Regions from separate parts of the Homo sapiens genome. Here region 1 is linked to region 2. Evidence: promoter capture Hi-C in human tissues and cell types (Jung and others, 2019). All regions are on one chromosome and are shown on one strand. Each heading gives the region's core, a stretch centred on a gene start or on the middle of the fragment in contact. The rest is flanking DNA. Distances are from core to core; before and after follow the strand shown.

What was found. Contacts are between HindIII fragments. The study calls those that stand out against the background at their distance.
Region 1: a contact is called between a fragment that was not itself captured here and the fragment with the promoter of CNTN1 in region 2, in 6 of the 25 tissues and cell types used here (H1 embryonic stem cells, aorta, bladder and 3 more).

What each region holds. Positions count from the first base shown.
Region 1 is chr12:40,648,688-40,654,537 of GRCh38, reverse strand. No RefSeq gene overlaps it. Among named protein-coding and RNA genes, the nearest start is that of CNTN1, 41 kb to the left of the region's middle. The HindIII fragment of the contact is 4,716 bases long and covers 1,142-5,850 here.
Region 2 is chr12:40,687,806-40,693,984 of GRCh38, reverse strand. CNTN1 (contactin 1) reads right to left here and starts at 1,546. Exons shown (of 24, transcript NM_001843.4): 1 at 1,393-1,546. The HindIII fragment of the contact is 18,580 bases long and covers 1-3,797 here.

The sequences.
Region 1 (5,850 bases), core at 2,250-4,749, 41 kb after region 2:
GTCTGTGATGGGAGAAGATTGTGTCAGAACGTTTGTAAGGACACTTCAAAGGCAAGCTTCATATGGCATTTTCTGCTCCTTTACTGTGAGCACAGGCCTAGTTATAATGTTAGACTTTGAGGATGAAAGCCAAAATCCAGTCTAGGTGAAGTGGCTCATGCCTGTAATCCCAGCACTTTGGGAGGCCGAGGCAGGTGGATCGCCTGAGGTCAGGAGTTTGAGACCAGCCTGGCCAACATAGTGAAACCCTGTCTCTACTAAAAATACAAAAAATTAGCTTGGCGTGGTGGCAGGCGCCTGTAATCCCAGCTACTAGGGAGGCTGAGGCAGGAGAATTGCTTGAACTCAGGAGGCAGAGGTTGCAGTGAGCGAAGATCATGCCATTGCACTCCAGCCTGGGCAACAAGAGTGAAACTCCATCTCAAAAAAAAAAAAAAAATCCATACCATCAGGTAATATATAAATCAAGGTTGACTTCTTCACAAACCAAGCAAATTACCAGGAAACCTTAGCTTGCTTTCATTTTCTTTTTCTTTTGCCTAAGACCTTTAATATTTGTAGCTTGGTGATCATTCTAAGAAAATACCTCCTCAGCAAACAAGTCAGATTAGTTAATCTTATTATTATCCCAATGTATTTATTCAACAATATTTATTGAAGTTCACTCTGAGACAGATATTACTGTAGGCATGAGGGACATTTCAAAGAACAGGGAAAGCTTGCTGCCCTCATAGAGTTTATAGTCTAGTGAAAGGAGATTGCCAATAAAAAATAATAAGCAAAACAAATGAAGAAATAAGCACATGATAGAGTAGGGAGGGCTGGGGACAGTCATGAGGTATTAAGGCTTCTTAATACTAGGTCAGGGAGGCTTTGCCAGTGAAGGCACACATGGGCAATGACCTGGAGGAAGTGAGGAGGCACACATGGACAATGACCTGGAGGAAGTGAGGAAGGGAGCCGTAGAACTCAGGGTAAACATTTAGGCAGAAGAAACTGCATACAAAACCCCTGAAGCCAGCAGCAAGGCTGATGTAGTTGAAGCAGAATAAGCCATGAGTGGGGAATTGGTAGGAGACAAAGTTGAAAAGGTTGGGAAGAGAGGAAAGCATTTTGTAGACACAGGATTTTTGTCTATTACTTGGCATGAGCTAGGAAGTCATTGGATAGTATTGGTTAGAAATGTAACAGCACCCAACCTTCCATTTTCAAAAGAGCATTCTAGCTACTGTATAGTGAATAGACTGAATAGATTGAAACAAGTGTAGAAGTAGAAGGACCAGTTAACAGCTTGTAGATATAATACACAAACAAGATTACAGTGGCTTGGACAGTGGTGATAGTAGTAGAGATAGCTAGACATAGTCAGATTTTAGATATATTTTGAACATAGATCAAGTAGGATTAGTAATAGGTTGAATATGGTAGAAGAGAAAGGGAAAGGGAATGTTTTAACCAGAGCAATGAAAAAATGGAATTACCACTTACTGACATGGGGTGGCCTATAGGAGAAGCAGGTTGGGGCAGGAATGTAGAAAATCAGTATTTGGTCTGGACATGTAAGCTTGAGTTACATATTATACTTGTAAGTGGAAATGTCAACTATACGGTTGAGTATATGAGTCTGGAGTTCAGCCGAGACCCCTGGGCTAGAAGTATAAGTTTGGAAGTGAGGGCATGTTGAAAGCCATGAGACTAGTTGCGCTCACCTAGGGAGTGAAGGAAGACATCTGAGTACTGTGTCATAGGGCCCTCCAATTTAGAGTTAGGAGAGATGAATAGAAACCAGCAAAGAAGATTAGGAAGAAATAGCTAAGGAAGAAGGGCACTGAGAGAGGGAGAGTGAGATAGAGAGAGAAATATGCCAGAAGTCAAGTGAAGAAAGTGGAAATAAGGAAATGATCACTCTATTAAATATTAGATGAGAACAGAGAATTGACCATTGCACTTGGCAATTACAGGTCATTGGAGACCTTGACAAGAGCTGTTTCAGTGAATTAAAAGCCTGATTGTCATGGGTACTGAAAAATATTAGAAGAGAGGAATAGAGATAGCAAACATAGATAACATTATCAAAAAATTTACTGGAACAGAGGACTGGGAAATGGGGCAGCAACAAGAAAGGTGTAGATAAGAGGTTTTATAGCATATTGGTATGATATTGAGAATGATATAGTAAAGAGGGGAAATTGATGATGCCACAGAGAATAGACAGTTGCTAAACTAATGTATTTGAATTGGCATGAAGGGTTGGGAGCTAGTGCCCAAATGAAGGGATTGACCATAGATGAGTTGGTGGTTATTCTATCTACGGGTGATGGGGGAAAGGCAAATATATTAATAAGTCAGTAGAAGTGGTTTTGGGAGCATATGGAATTGTATCCTTTGGTTTCTTTGATTTTCTATAGAGGAAGAAAGGCCAGCTATTCTGATTGGAAAGCGAGGAGGAGGTACTGGTGGTTGAAGGAGAGAGATGGCATAAGATGGCCATCTGTGAAGGTGTAAGAGAGAATGTACTAGGAAAATATGGTGGGTGAATCTACTGGGGAACATTGAGGGCCCATTTGAGAATGAGAGTCACAATATTGGAAGGTAAAGGGGACAAGAAATTGCAAGAGAATGGTTGAATCAATATACTGCAGCACTGTCATTAGGTTCATATTGATAGTGGAAGGAAGCAGACAAATGCCTAGGCAGATAGGAGTGGGACCCCTATGAAACCCCAACTCCAAACCAAAGACAGTTTAAAGCCTGAAAGCCAAGCTATAATTCAAATCCAGGGAAAAGATTGAGAACCTGTCTTCCCTTTTGGCATGCTTTCCTCTGATTGATCCCCAGCCTTCACCTATTTTACATATACCTACCCTTCCCTAATTGTTTTTTCACACTGCCATGCCCACCTTTGAGTGCTGCCTTTGTTTTTAACCTTTTTTGCATACTCACAAACCAATCAGGATGCACTCCCCTATTATGAGCCCATCAAAGTTCTGGACTCAGCCACACTGGGAGAGAAACACCCAACTCCAGGTGGCTGACCACCCTCACGACCCTTCTTGGCTAAAAGCTGTTTCATCCTCAACAAAATTCTTCTCTGCCCTCCTCACCCTTCAACTGTCAGAATATCCTCATTATTCTTGGACATGGGACAAGAACTCAGGAACTGCTGAACGTGGGTATGAGCTATAGCACAGGTGGACTGGAGCATGCTTGGCCCAGCTGCAGGCTCAGCTGGTGCACAAGCCAGGCACAGCCTGGGTGGGTTGAGTGGGCAGCTGCCTCCAGTGGCAGGGAGCATGGCCGAGTGAGGCCCAGGCAGGGGCATCACTGGCTGGAGGTCCCTGGCTTACAAAGTAACTAAGAAAACTCCTGTGTCAATATTGCCCACAGCATCTCAACTTTCATGAAGCCCCCAGGGATTTACCCCAAATGAAGGGAATCGCCTAAGATCCTGGACATTGATTCCAAAGTTTTCTTGTAGGGCAGTGTGACCCAAACCAGAAAACACAGCAGGACATAGCATACACGTTTAGCAAGAGGCAGATCCAAATAAGTTGCCAAGGTGGAACCAATAACGGGAGGATACAAGAGACAGAAGGAGATTGAAGTGACCTCAATAAAAAGAGATGGAGCAGCAGGAAGAAAGTCTGCTTGGTAACTAAGAGTGGAGCTTTGAAGGGCTGCAACTGGGCAAAGAAAACAAAATCAGAGAAAGCAGTATAGCAGATGGTTAAAATCCTAGGGTGCAAAGTCAGTTATATCTGGTCCAGGAATTGGTGGTTAACTATTAAAAAAAAAGTATTTCTCAACAATGACATCCTTTCCTCTCTGAGGTAAAACCACTTTTGAAAAAAGTATATCAGTGAGAAAATTATGACACTGAAAGAGATCTGAGCTAGTCCACCCCTATCTTGCCTTTCCTTTAATTATTCCTGGGCTATTGGGCAAAGCTAACTTTGGAAGACATTCAGGCTATAGTTTAAATGATAATGGGCTTTGCCCTGAAACTCAACCACTTTTGTAAAGCTAATGGGAGGCCATCAGACTGGGGTAGGAGAGGAGCATGAGTCTTGCTAAGGCAGAGACATAAATGATTGTCAGCCTTTATTCTGGAGGTTATAAGATAATGCAACTTCCCTAATTACTCCTGCAAATAACATCACTATCATAGAACCAAAGATGGGCCTTTTGAGATATCTTTTCAGGAATTTTTGCATGTCTGAAACTCATGGCTCTACCTGAACCTGCCAGCCCTACTACTGTGGCCCCACCCAGAAGCTATTCCGCCCACAGGAGGACAGCTTTGACTCCCTGTGATTTCATCTTTGCCCCAACCAATCAGCATCAAGCACCTGTTACCTGGCTACCCCTATAAATTTCCCCAAACTGCCTTTGAAAAACCCCTAATCCTAGAGCTTTGGATGTGATGATTTGAGTACTAATTCCATCTCCCATGTGGTTTGGCTGACCTCTTGTCTGTTAAACTCTTTCTTTACTGCAATGCCTGTCTTTATTCAGCAGGCAGGGAGAATCCCTTGAGTGGTTACAGAAGCTAAACTATTCTTTTCTAAAAGGAAGATCACTACCCCTGACTAAGAAAACAGCAGCCATCACAGAATGATTTCCCAATCAGTACATTCTAATAGTTTGATGGACTTTGAAGGCTGTGGATTGTCTCCACTGATGTCCATGTTGCAGATTCCATAGTTAAAACACATTATACATGGACTGGGGCCAAAAACACTGAGGTTTCTTTGGAGATTCAAATTTTGATAGAAAGATTACCACCTCTAGGAATTAAATCCACTTCACTGGGCAAAGATTAGTCATTTAAATGTGAGAAGATTAATATTTATGATTTCCAATGATAGTGATAAAATGGAGAATGAATGAGTGTAACAGTCAAAATGATTTTTAATCCTGGTTTCAGTTTGCTTTATTTAATTTTTATGCATCTCAGCTTTCTCTTCTACATAAATGGGGTAATAATCTTTATCTATAAAGTTATGTTAAAAATTAGATCCTGTGACATACATGAAAGCACCTATCACAGTACCCAGAGCTCAGTGAGTGCTCTGAAAACGGTTTGTGTTCTTTGCTTTCCTTTTCTTTTTACTCCTTCCCTCCTTCCCTTGTTCTCAAACTATCCCTTCCCTTTACCTCCTTTTCTTCCTTTCCTTTTTCAGACACTAGATCTCATGATCAAAATGTCTATATGTTGTATATCCAGGAACACTGATTTATTTATATTATTTTTCCCTTTCCCCCGACCTTTCAGTAGAAAGTGTGAAAAATGTCTAAATTCATATACTGATAGGAAACATGAGCCTACTATTTTTCACACAATTCCATTGCTTTGTTTCCACTTGCATTTGACTTTTCTTAATCAAATTTGTTTTGTTTTATCTCTGCCCCTGTGAATTAGTATGACCTCCCAGAAAGTTCTCCATTGACCCAATTTTTGTGATTGTTGTTTCAAAGTGAGAGGGTGAAGTAAGGATACATTTTCTACAATATATCAGGTACTTTCTTGTAAGATGACAGAAGCTTTTTTTTTTTTTTTGATAGGCTATTACATTTTTGTATATTGCTTTATAAATATAAGATCTTGTTTATCTCAAAATATCTCAAGTCTGAAAAAAAAAGCTTCCTTTAGTAGCTACCTTGAAAGTAAATTGTCTCTCCTTCTTGTCTACATAATGCATGTTGCTTTTGTTTGGACAAAAAGTTCTTGAACTCTTAACAGCCACATCAGCTTTCTCATCAGCCTGGCCTTCCATCATCTCAGAAATACCACAAGGTTGTGACACTACCTCTCACAGCAGGAAGAGTAATGGCCTTTGTTGTCGCTTC
Region 2 (6,179 bases), core at 297-2,796:
TGAAGATTATATTGGCACTCTAAGAATGTTTGCAAAATACTGAAATATTGAAAACATGAAATATGACATATTGAAAACATGAAATATGAAATATTGATCTTTACGTGAGTTACAAAAACATTATTTCACGCAGGGTTTCAGCAGTCTGAATGCTTCTTCTCCGGCTTTTCCCCCAATGGAGAATTGGATTCCCTTTTGCCCCGCCCACTCAGTGCTTCCAGATTGCTTGAGAAGGCCAAGGCAGCCGGCTCAGCAGCAGGGAAGCCGGGCTGGGTATGCAGGAGCTATATATAGCTCCACCTTGGAGATGTGCACACACAAGCACACGTACGAATACCCATGCCCGGTTTGGCATGAAAATAAATAAATAAATAAGGAAAGGTCGCAGCTATCCGCTTTCCCTCTTTCCCATCATCCCAATTTTTCAGGAATTTTCAAAGCAGGGTGTCATCAGTCCCAGAGGGTGATGCAGCGTCGGATCTCTCTGCAATTCTTCTGCCTACTGCTCCCAGCAATCTGACTCCTGCAGGAACCGGCACTGGGCCAACACCTACTACCCAGATGCGGTCACCTAGGGAGGCAGCCTCGCAGCCGCTCGGAGCCCATCCGGGCACAATCACTTGACTCCCTGGAAATCCCTGAAGCCAAATCCACCTTTCAGAAACTAGGTGTGAAGGTGGTTCCCGTAGACAGCGCCAGGCTAGGAGGGAAGGGGCCGTGGCTCCGCGGTCTCTCCCTCCCACCTGCCGCAGATCGTGGAGAAGGGCCGGTGCCTTCTCAACGGAGACGTAATTAATCGGAACGTGCCCTTCGAGTTGCAGGGATTCTTCCCCACCCCCATCTCCTGAAGGGAGCTAGATCTTAACAGAGGGGTCAGGGGACAAACAAGTCGCTTCCTCCCCTCTCCGCAACCGCTCCCAGGTTTTCCGGGATGCGCTAGCCAGGCGCCCAGGTGGGATGGGAAAGATGAGCAGGTGCGGGCCGGCGTCGGGAGAAAAAGACCTGCAGGCCCCGGGCTGCCGACCTCTCTGCTTCCCCACCCCTCCCCTGCCGAGGCGATATGGCATCCCTGGGGCGAGTTCCCGGCGCTGGCGGCGGCAGCCTCCGAAAGGAAAGTTGACGAGACACAGACCCCGAGCTCGGAGCCCTCTTCTAGGGCACTGCCGTCCTGCCTTGCCCGGCACCCCAGGGCTCCGGCATCCCGCACCCCTGCTTCCCCGCACCCCAGCCACCTCCGCCCCAGTCCTTCCCGCGCCGCACGGCGAGAGCTGCAGGGACCACAGGAGATTTGGGGGTGACGAGGGCTGGGCGGGGCTGGGGGAAGGGAAGCAACAGCATGGAAATGCGCATTCTTTATTTTATCTGCAAAGAAGGAAAAGTCCAGCTTCCTACCTGTTCCCTGCTCCTGCTCGCCTCGGTGCGGCACAGCTGGACCATACCCTACAGGTTTCCCACTTCCGCTGCAAACACCTGGGAGCGCATCTCCCCACCGGCGCCCCTCCTCGCCTCGGCGGAGCCCACCCTGGCTACTTGACAGCAGAAGCCCGGCCTTTTAGGGCGGTTATTGGGGCAGCAGGGAAAGTGGGGCGGGGACCACAGGGAAACCCGCTTCTCTGATTGGACAACAGGGATATCACTCTCACCCCCAGGACCAGCGCAGGCTGCAGACTTGGGTAGCTGCTAAACCCAACTGCAAAGGGTCTCTGCAGTGCCTGAAACCCAAACCTGCTGCTACCGGATCAAGGACCCTTGCTGGAGAGAAACTGGTTTGATGACTTGTCATTTGGGGCCCCAAGAGGGAGGGAGGGTCCAGGCATAACTAGACACCCAGCACTTTCCTGAAGCTTCCCTGAAGGGACCATCTGCTCCGGGAGATTTGTCAGGCGAAAATACCAAGCCAGCGCCTCATAGAGAAGAATGAGCTTCGATTAGGAAATAATAAGATACTTATGTGGGAAAAAATACACACACAGAAAGGAAAATAAAACGATGTGAGGTTTTTTTTTAAAGTTTCCATTTTTGTCCAGATGTAACATGGCAGTTTTTCTTGAGAAAAGACGGAATTGCTTAGTCTGTAATGCAGAAGACCCCCTAATATTCCCTGGTAGAAACAGTGTTTTAAACGGGAAAGCACTGCATAATAACCTCTCAAAAAAAAAAAAAGGGTAAAAGAAATTAAGGCCAAACTGCATGAGAGATTTGCTTTGGGGCAGTTCAGTTTGTGGCAAAAGTCTTAAAATAATCACCATTAGACTGATTGATAATTAAGTGATCTGTTACTTTTCTATTGATAGTAGTTTATCATTTCTTTAGTACTCAGACACTGAGAGGATGTTTATGCCCCCAAACCTAAGTGATCCCAAGCCTGCCTTTTATGTGAAGGGAACAGGGTAAAATAACTTTGTGTCCAGTTGCCATCTCTGCCATTTATTCAGGTGGAATCTGGAAATTTTGGAATTCAAGAGACTCCTTAAATGAAGGAACGTGCTAGAACTACCACGTGTAAAACTGGGAGTGTAGGGTGTCTTAGTATATAGTACCATGTGAGGAATCAAGTTGCCTTCTGCCTGCAAATAGCCACATTCTTCTTCTATCTGAATTAAGTAGCCATCTTAAGTGCTGAGCATAAGACACAACTCTCATTCTCACAGAGCTTCAAAGAGCTTATGACAGGCTTGGGACACTGGACAACTGTTAGAGAAGATGACATTGCTATTAATAAATATAGACTCTACTTAGTGGTTACGGTTGTTATTACTATCATCAGGTAAGGCTCTTCATAATGTTTTCTTCATAATACTGAAGGAATCCGATTAATGCATTTGAAGGTGGGGGCCGGGCGAGGTGGCTCATGCCTGTAATCCCAGCACTTTGGCAGGCGAGGCAGGCGGATCACAAGGTCAGGAGATCGAGACCATCCTGGCTAACACGGTGAAACCTCGTCTCTACTCAAAAAAAAAAAAAAAAAAAAAAATACAAAAAATACAAAAAATTAGCCGGGCATGGTGTTGGGCGCCTGCAGTCCCAGCTACTCAGAAAGCTGAGGCAGGAGAATGGCGTGAACCCAGGAGGCGGAGTTTGCAGTGAGCGGAGATTGCGCCACCGCACTCCAGCCTGGGCGACAGAGCGAGACTCCGCCTCAAAAAATAAAATAAAATAAAATAAAATAAAATAAAATAAAATAAAATAAAATAAAATAAAATAAAATAAAATAATAAAATAAAATAAAATAATGCATTTGAAGGTGGGAAGGGACCCTGGAGAAAATTTACAGTGAACAAATAGATATTATTTGTGTGGTGACAACCATCTTAACACTGAATGGAAATGACTAAATATGCCGTGGCAAAATTTCAGAACCCCTGTGTCATTTCTTACACAATACTCCTATTAGTCATGCACCTCTGTCCCAGGTACTCACACCAGTTATTCCATTGGATTGGCCAAATCATTCATGAATTACTGAGTACTTTTTCAATGCCATACCCTGTGTTAGGTGCTACAGAACTAAAGCAGAATAATGTATTGGACACATTAAAGATGATCTCAGGAAGCAATTACAATAGTAATATTTCTAAGGAATGTGTGTTTGCAACACGAACATCTTTTGATTCCTAAGCATAAATTATTTTGAGTCAAAATGAGCTTCAACATACTCTCCTCTAGAGGTAATCAGAGGAGAAGAAAAAGTATCAAAGAAAATACCTAAATATTGAAGACAACACAAGAATTGAAATTGGTAATGAAAAGAAAACTAAAGACATCTCTGCTATCTGCGTTCTTTCATTGCTTCACTCATTCATTCCTTCAACAAATATTACTATTATAAATGTGATGGTGAATAAAATAGGCAAGCTCTCATGGAACACATTCTTTATTCTTCAAGCAGACAATGTTACTTTGTGCATTTACTGTGATCTAATTAGCAGCTTTGTGTGTACATGCAAACACAACTCTGGAACAGTATTAAGATAATTTCTCTCTGGATCAGGCATCTCACACATTTTCAAGTAAAACAGAGCATTTTCAGGTTATTGCTTATTATCTCAAAGAGAAAAACCTGTACATATGTTCCCACAATACAAATGAATATGTCAAAGGTATCTGCTGCTGCAGAACATTTTAGATTTTCCAAATCACTTTCAGATACAATTTCCCTCTGTGTTCTAAAATAAGCAGGAGAGTCATCATTAGTCGCATTTCACCATGAGGAAATTGAGTAACCAAAGAGAAATGTGGTCCTTCAAAAACAAAGGCAGTAAACTATTATAGGTGGGTATATAATGCTTGGCATATTGCAGACATCTAATATGTATTTGCTGACAAATATATGGTTTTGAAAATATGAAAGTTTGAAGGATCTTAGAAAGTATTGAACTCCTTGTAATGCCAGCACTTTGGGAGGCCGAGGCAGGCAGATCATCGGAGGTTGGGAGTTCGAGACCAGCCTGACCAACATGAAGAAACCCAGTGTCTACTAAAAATACAAAATTAGCTGGGCATGCTGGCCCATGCCTGTAATCCTAGCTACTCAGGAGGCTGAGGCAGGAGAATCTCTTGAACCTGGGAGACGGAGGTGGTTGCGGTAAGCCGAGATGGCACCATTGCACTCCAGCCTGGGCAGCAATGGGAGCAAAACTCTGTCTCAAAAAAAAAAAAAAAAAGAAAAGAAAAAGAAAGAATTGTTGAATTCCACTCATTATTCTGTGAGGGAGGGACAGAATTTGCTTAAGGTCATGTGACTAGTTAGGGGAAAGCTGCAGCTAGACCCCAGGTCTTAAGACTTCATTCATTACTTTTTCTACCACATGAACAATAAGAGTTTTGGTATTTCTTTCAGCAGAGTTCCTTCTCTTTTTCCTCCCTGTATCATCCAGCCTTTTGATGTTTTCAGGACTGATCCAGCTGGTGTACTCATCTTCCAGCGTCTATAAAAATATGTGAAAGCATGCCACTTTAACTATAAATTCAGCTCAGATTCAACGTGCTTGTAAGTTTGAGGTCGGCTTCATGAGTATGGGATCAGAGTCATCAGGACTGGTGTCGAGGTATGAAGAAAGCTGTTGGAAAATGAATGGCCAGCTGGCACTTCTGTCCCTAAAATTAGGAAGAAGGGAATTATAGAAACAATAGTCTGAAGGCTTCCAATCTGGCAGTCTGGTATAGAACCTGTCTGCAGATCTTCAAAAGAAACAGTAGGACAATTTTGTCATGTGCCCTGGATGGCTCTGACTCCCTAGTCACTTACAGAGTTCCATAGTACAATTTACTGGGCATTGCTTTGCTAAACTGCCCTTGGCCTTATTGAATTCTCCTGTCTTCCCCTCCTTTTTCCACCCTGCACTGGCCCTCCTTCTTCAAACATTCCAATTTCCTCCAACTAGTGATTAAACCTCAGTGAAGGGAAAGGAAACTACAGCAACAGTGCAGCTTTCCACAGCATGTACTCCCTTTCTTTCTCCTCTGCTCCGCCCACCGTTTCCTCACTTCTCCAGGCTTCCCAGAACAATTTCTAACATACTCGATATGGCAAAAAAGCAGGAGAGTAAGGAAAACGGGCCTTTTCCAATTAATATTTTAAGCTGCAATTACCACAGCAGAAAGGTAACCAAGGTTCTGCCTGCTGGTTTAAAGAGAGTCATGCTAAACCCAGTCTGCAGCATCTCAGAGATCACGTCAGCTCACTGACCTAGCTTTTACATAGCCAACTGGGAATCCAGGCAATGGGATGGATGCACAGTGCACCAAGCTTGCATGCACACACACACACACACACACTATCAGTGCCACGTGGTGGGGAGACCAGGACGGGAAAGTTTTTGAATACTAAATACTGCATATATATTAAACGGCAGCAACTTGCTACTCATGCAGAGCCACTGTAATCTTTTTAGGGATTAAGAGTAATATTTGAATCTCTTAGCTTTAGCAGTAACTGCTATGCACCAAAAGAGCAAATTTACAGAAAAGGACACATGCTAATATTGCAAGGACATCTTCACATCTATTGTTTCACAATGGAGTCCTCTAATTTATCTTTCATGTTGCCCCATTTATATAATAGGAATCAATGTATAATGTAACAAAAGGATGTGTTACTCCTTAGTTCATAGCCACTGTGTCCTCAAATTCTTTCAACTCATACAACTCATGGGGAGTGGCCAATGCTCAATTCAGTT